2 separate regions of the Homo sapiens genome follow, and region 1 is linked to region 2. The links are contacts of gene promoters, found by promoter capture Hi-C in human tissues and cell types (Jung and others, 2019). All regions are on one chromosome and are shown on one strand. Each heading gives the region's core, a stretch centred on a gene start or on the middle of the fragment in contact. The rest is flanking DNA. Distances are from core to core; before and after follow the strand shown.

Region 1 (3,497 bases), core at 746-3,245, 130 kb before region 2:
CATGCCTGTAATCCCAGCTACTTGGGAGGCTGAGGCACAAGAATCGCTTGAACCCAGGAGGCAGAAGTTTCAGTGAGCCGAGATCGTACCATTGCACTCCAGGCTGGGTGACAAAAGTGACAGAATTCTTCAGTTTTGAGATAAAAATAAACTTCTGTTCCATAGGCACAAATAAGCCTTAGTGTTTATGTTTATTGTGAGGTAAATAGTAGAAAGATTAAGTCAAATCATACAATCCTCATGTGGGGTATAAATGTGGATTTTTTGCATTAGAAAATATTTTGGAATAAAACAACCTCACAAATTTGCCATACATACCAGAATAAGAAACTTGTTAAAATGTTGTAATGCCTAATAACTATTGTTAGAATGTATTAGTCGTGTCCTTTCAATAGTTTAATATGACCAAGCCATCTGTTTGAAATGTAATTTTGCCTGAGATTTTGTCTCTAGTTTTTTAATTCTTCTAAACTAAACGTCCAGCAGAATTCTCTTAAATAACTAGGGCCTGATTCAAAGTTTTCACTATATCCACGTTGTTTGCCAAGTACTTACTGTCTATGGACAGGTTTACCATGATAAAGAACATAACATGCAAAAACAGACCATTATTTTAATGAAGATTGTATGTGAAATCAGAATTATTTAGGCTATCTGTATATCTATTCATGAAAATACAGAACAGCTTTAAGATTTTTTATTACTGATTACTGACCCTCTTCTACACCTTCCCCTTTTTCCCCAAGTGGATAGATATTTTTTTCTCAGTGATGATATTCACCCCTTTTTTTAGGATGGAGATTTCTCCTCCCAGTGGATTAGAAAGAAGAAGCATGGCTATTTCTTTGCCATGCTGGCCACAGCCTTCTTAGCTGTATCCTCCAAGTCAATGCCATAAGTAATGGGGAGTTAGTTAGATGCTATTAAGCATATTTTAAGGCCCCTGGACATTGAATCCTTCAAACTTGACCACCAGAGGGGCCATGAGTTCTAGTTCTCAGCAGTGTTTGATGATGCCATTGGCAATGACAGCAAAATTCACTATCACACCTAAAACAATGTTGACGGTGATTTCAAACTTAGGATCAGCAATGAGCAATTTAAATGTTTAGTACACCTGAGCTTCCTCTACACTACTGCTAATATCTAAGAAGTTGGCTGGGCTTTGATCATTAAGGGTAATAACGTCTCAGAGAGCCATGTATGGCCCAGCATCACTTAGTAAGGATTCCCATCTAGTTTTAATTTTAGATCATATCTGGTTGCTTCATTTTCGATAGACACACCTTGAATTTGTTGGCCATGCCAAATATGTTTTTTGTGGACATTCTGCATTGTCCTCAAGGTTTATCATGACATCAAAATAGACAACCTATCATTCCAGAGTTTCACCAAAGGTTTCACTTCAAGCTAAGTAGCATATAATTTCAGGAAGCAGTAAAACAGCTGGTTAAGCCTGATTTTTGTAGACCTGTAGAAGCCTACATTTTCTCCCCTTTACTAAACTTGACTGTTCTCTATGCCCTCAAAATGTAAATTTCCTCCTTAAAAATAAATTCCGGTAAGAAGCTGCCACTTATAACGCCTCTCCTGGAGGCTGCCATCAGTAAAGGCCATTGCAGGATTAGCCCATTAAAACTTTATTGTGGGAACATCACACCCAGTGCCAGTTACGAAATATTCTAACTTTTACCCTGTTTTCTGACATCAGTTTCTTGCTCTTAGGTACCTGCAGGAGCAGCCATCTTTTAGATGTTAATTCAACTCCCTTGGACTTCTCTGAAAGGAGTGGGGCCTGAGCACCAGCATTCACAAAATTTTTTGACCTGCATTGTCATAGGAGAATGACACCTTAAACAAAAACCAGGCACAGAGGAGTCTGACTAGGTAACTGAGATGAGAGAAGAAGGGACCTTTTTTCCTCATTTTATTGAGATGGGTCTCACTATGTTGCCCAAGCTGGTCTCAAATTCCTGGGCTCAATTGATCCTCCCACCTCAGCCTCCCAAGTAATGGGGACTATAGGAAACAGCCACCATGCCCAGCGAGAAGGGTACTTCATACAGATTTAATTCTACATTGGAAACCAACCTTGAGAAAAAGCCTACATTGTGTGTGTGTGTGTTGGGGCAGGGAGCGGTGTGTATGCTTCTGTCCAGATCTGAGTTCCTGAAAATCATAGTGTCTTATCCAGCTTTGTATCCCCAGTATCTAGTATAGTGCCTTATATATACTAAGTGCTTAATAAATGGTTATGACATGAATTACGGTTTGGATGAGTCCTTGTGCCACTGGAAACCCTCTCGAGATCACATTTAGAGGACTGCCACAGCAGCATGTCTGAGAGTCTTAGTTTGTTTAGTTTAACGCATTCTCTAACATGATGATTAACCCTCATGTAATCTCAGTCACAATTTTATCACTATAGATATTAATGAGCATGTTGAATCCAGCTGCTGCTGTGGTTTTACGTCCAGAATACCATAAGCCTATAAAATCCATTCCATTGGAAAGCAGAGTGGCCTTACATTAATTTCTAAGCTTTACACAACAATTAGGCAAAATTAGACAAGACTTCATGCTTTTTAAGTCCAAAGATTCCCTTTCTAGTTTTATTATGAAGCCAATACATCGAAGAATACTTTCCTCCCACAGTGCTTAAGACCAGTGCTAGATTACAAATACATAAATGGGCCATGACTTCCACCCCACCCACAAAATGATCCAGGCAGGAAATTCCAACTTGCTTGTCCATTGCTCAATCTACCCTTTGCTAAAGGAAGACATTTCTAGGTGAGGACATTTATAGTCAAATAAATTCTAAATGATAATGTTCAGTAACAGATCTTCTGAGCAAGGAAATATATCCACCTGTCTGGAAAAGACTCAAATTCTGTGTCACTTGTAATGGGCCAGTATGGAGTCTAAGCTGATGACAAAGCATCTCCTAGCTCTTCCCCTTCCTCTTCAGCTCTCCGGCTGTAACTCTGGGGAGGCTGTAGAGGCACAACATTCTCCTCTCTGGATTCTTCACTCATTACCTGTAAATGCTACATCACATGATCTCAGTTTCTTCAAATACCCTCTCTGTTGACTGCATGTTAATCTGTTCAATAGGTATTTTTATCCCAAAATAATGCAGGACCCAGAGGTGGAGAAATCTGTGGATTTGTGGTGGAAGAGAAATTATGAAAAGAAAAACTGAGCCAGATCCTGGTGAAGCAATTCTAGGGTTAGCAAGAAAACCAATTAGAAAAGAACTATAGTCTAAGGAGCCACATAGAGTTGAGAACCTGCTTACATTCATTCATTCCTTTCACACTTTTCCTTGAGTATCTATTACATATTGGTCATCTGCTAAGTTCTGTAATACAAAGATGAATGAGACCCTCCCCTTGAATTACTCACATTAAACAGTGGCGAGATTGTCTCTAATTGCTATGGCATACATGTGTACAAATATGCTTTGAAGAAGTCAGTTCTAAGTGATACCAAGG
Region 2 (3,507 bases), core at 137-2,636:
ACAATTTAGCTTTCTTAGAATTAATGTTGAAAATGTTCATTCTCTAATATCTGGCATTTCACTTCTACCTTAAGACAGTCAAGGACGTGCGTGCCAGGTTACATAAATAAAGAGTTCACAGCAATATTATCACAATAACTCCAAACTGGAAACAACTCAAATGTTTATCAACAGCAGAATGGATGATAAATTGTGGTATAGTTATACATTTGAATTTCATAAAGCAAAGAAAATATATGAACTATAGCTACACAGAAAATGGGTAGATCTCACAAATATAATTGTTGGGTGAAAGAAGAATTTACAAAAGAAACAGAGAATATGACTCCATTTATATGATGTCAAAAATAGGGAGGTTAATCATATTGTTTAGGCATGCAGACATAGATGGTCAAATTATAAAGAATAACAGGGACAAGAGGATCCCAACATCTTGGGGCAGAATGGGGGTTGATCAAGAATGGGCTTCTGGGTGCTGGCAATGATCTGTTTCTTGACCTGGATGATAATTATAGAAGTGTTGCCTTTCAGTTATTGTTTAAACTGTGTATGTTTATGCACTCTTAACTTTTTTTTTTTCAGTCATTTCTGAATTAGCAGGCTACCCATCACACTTCTTTCTTTCTTGGGATTTACCTCTTACTACTTCTTGCACTTTAATGGTGACCTTGAATATTTGTTGTTTTATGTGATTTTAGATGAATAAAACATGAAGAGTTAAGGTGAGAATTTCTAGTGAATTCAATTCAATCAACACATATGCTAACTGTAAGGTGTGGTGTGAACATTCCTTTCACACACATTTATACACTTTAGGAAGAATGAACCAGTTAGGCAGAAATTCAGATCAGCCAAGTTCCATTTTTCTGCTTTTAACCAATAAAGACACTTTGGGTTTCATTTTAAACATTCCCTGAAGTCAAGGTCATGCCATATGATCCAGTGATTGCAAATGGATGAACTAAAACCCAAAAAGCTCTGAATAAATTGTGCAGGAAGTTTGACATTGGCTTTCTTTGAATGGAGACTTAGAGAAGATAGAAAAAAGACCATCTTCCATAATACAAGAAAGAAAAAAAATTTTTTTTTACTAGGAAGGGAGAAAATGCATACCCTTAGGAGAAAAAAAAAGGAAAACAGAAAGCAATAGTACTCACTTTATATCTTAAGGCATGCTGTATCCAAGGGGCATTGCCTATTTCATTAAGAAATGCAAACATTCCTCTGCCTTTCTCATTTGCAGCTTGTACACACACACACACCGTATGCTAAGCATAAAAATCCTGCAGTTACCTGAAGAGGATCAAAGACACACCCTGGCTATGGCAGGTTTCTCCTCGCTGTCTCCAACTTGAGCTCCAACTCCTTCTCCCCTCCCAGGCTGTCTGGACTCCTGGACTCTGGGCAGCGCCTAAAGTAGTCCGTGGAAGCTGGCAATCACTGTGATGTCACTGATGAAACATCTCAAAGGAACACCCTCCGAAGGTTCGAGGCTATTTGTGTTCGGGGGACATGGAAATATGTTGACTAAGACTTTGTTCCTTTGGCTGCCAATTTGCCACCACCAGGATTTAAAAACCTTCTGTTTCCAGTTGACTTTTAGTGCAATTGATGTGGGTTTTAAATGTGTCTTTTACATCTTCATGAATAACTTTAACATGTCTTTAAAACATCATAAACCAAGAATGATAGACTAATTTTAACCAATCGATGCTGCATTTGACTGCTCTCCCTAGTCAGCCTGTGAGGTGTAAAAATGTGACTTCATTTTACCACCCATATCTTTAGTTATTTGAAATGTGAAGAGTTTGCTGCCTTACACCCACACATATGCACACCCATACACACACACACACACTCCAGAATTCAATAGGCATCTTTAGCTCTTTCAAAACTGACTTTAGTCCAAGCAGTGAAAGCTATCCCCTCCGTCACCTGCTCCACGTAACTTTCCAGCTAAGCTGTGCATTGCAAGTTTACACGTGGATCTACAGTTTCATCTGAAACAGCCGAGGAAGTCATGGTTTGTATATCTCTGGCAATAAATTAATAGAGCAGTAAACTCACACAGTTCAACTCAGTTATTTGGATAGATTGGGAGTGGAAGGAGAACTGGGTAAAATTAGTGAAAAATGTGAATTATAGAATATATCTGAAAGAAAGAAAAGTATTATATAACTTTCTAATATGAACACTAACTAAAATTAGACTAAGATGAGTTTGTAACCAATGTATCACATGTTTGGAGCCCCTGAAGTGTTAAATTAGACTTGAAAGCAGATCAATTAAGTACTTTAAACATGACCCTAGCAATTGTGTTTGCTCAGCAGATCCTTTCTTTATAGATAATAGAGGAAATCTCCCCCTCTGAATTCCCAATTAGGGTCAATCAAAATAATGCATTCCCAAAAGGCATAAACAAACAAAATTCTCTATGCAGTTATGCTCATAGTCAAACCTTTCCCTCCATTCCTCATACCCCAGAGACATTACCAAAACAAGACTTTCCATTTCATTTCCTCATTTTAACATAAGCTTAGCAACGGGTAATCTTAATACAACATTCTGTCACCACTTGTCTTGTGAAAAGAGCGCTTGCTGAAGTGACAGAGAGTGTATAATAATTATAGTGCAACCGAACATTGGCAGTTATCTGTTGCCATCTGGCAAACTCCTTGAATGTAATCAGAGTTCTGTCTTCTGCCTCCAAGCTCTCACTAGATTGTTTCCCAGGCTGGGAATGTTTTTCTAGTTACCAAGCCACACCTGTCCCTTTTTGTAACCACTCAAAATTATTTTTTGTCAAATTAAAAAAGTTATATATTTATTGTAGGACATGTGAAAATATATTAAAGTATTTAAAACTTTTAAATTACTTTTAATCTCACCACCCAAAGGGGAAAAAAACAAAACTTTACTTTACTTTTTTTTTCTTTTGAGATGGAGTTTTGCTCTTGTCACCCAGGCTGGAGTGCAGTGGCGTGATCTCAGCTCACTGCAACCTCCGCCTCCCGGGTTCGAGCGATTCTCCTGCCTCAGCCTCCTGGGTAGCTGGGATTACAGGCATGCACCACTATGCCTGGCTAATTTTTGTATTTTTAGTAGAGATGGGGCTTCACCATGTTGGCCAGGCTGGCCTTGAGCTTCTGACCTCAGGTGATCCAACCGCCTCAGCCTCCCAAAGTGCTAGGATTATAGGTGTGAGCCACCGGGTGCCCGGCCTACATTACTTTTTATTCATCCGTTTGAGGCTGCATAGGCACAATCTCAAATTCCCAGGATATTTTTGGTAAAAGAATCTGAAACTTGAAAACCTTTTTTCTTAATTCATTTGGAATCAAATTATTTGTAGTATATCATGTGTTGATATTAGGTTTATGGGATAAGCATTTATTTTGTACATCTCAGATTATGAATTAGCTCTACAATATTTAAAATGTTAAATACAATAGCGAAATGTTAACGTATCACCAAAAGAGCTCTCCAATGTTGTCATTTTGTTGAATT

What was found. Contacts are between HindIII fragments. The study calls those that stand out against the background at their distance.
Region 1: a contact is called between a fragment that was not itself captured here and the fragment with the promoter of SLN in region 2, in 4 of the 25 tissues and cell types used here (H1 embryonic stem cells, dorsolateral prefrontal cortex, heart right ventricle and 1 more).

What each region holds. Positions count from the first base shown.
Region 1 is chr11:107,585,060-107,588,556 of GRCh38, forward strand. It overlaps the pseudogene SUCLG2P3. Among named protein-coding and RNA genes, the nearest start is that of ELMOD1, 4.3 kb to the right of the region's middle. The HindIII fragment of the contact is 4,248 bases long and covers 1-3,497 here.
Region 2 is chr11:107,710,670-107,714,176 of GRCh38, forward strand. SLN (sarcolipin) reads right to left here and starts at 1,387. Exons shown (of 2, transcript NM_003063.3): 1 at 1,294-1,387. The HindIII fragment of the contact is 6,706 bases long and covers 1-3,507 here.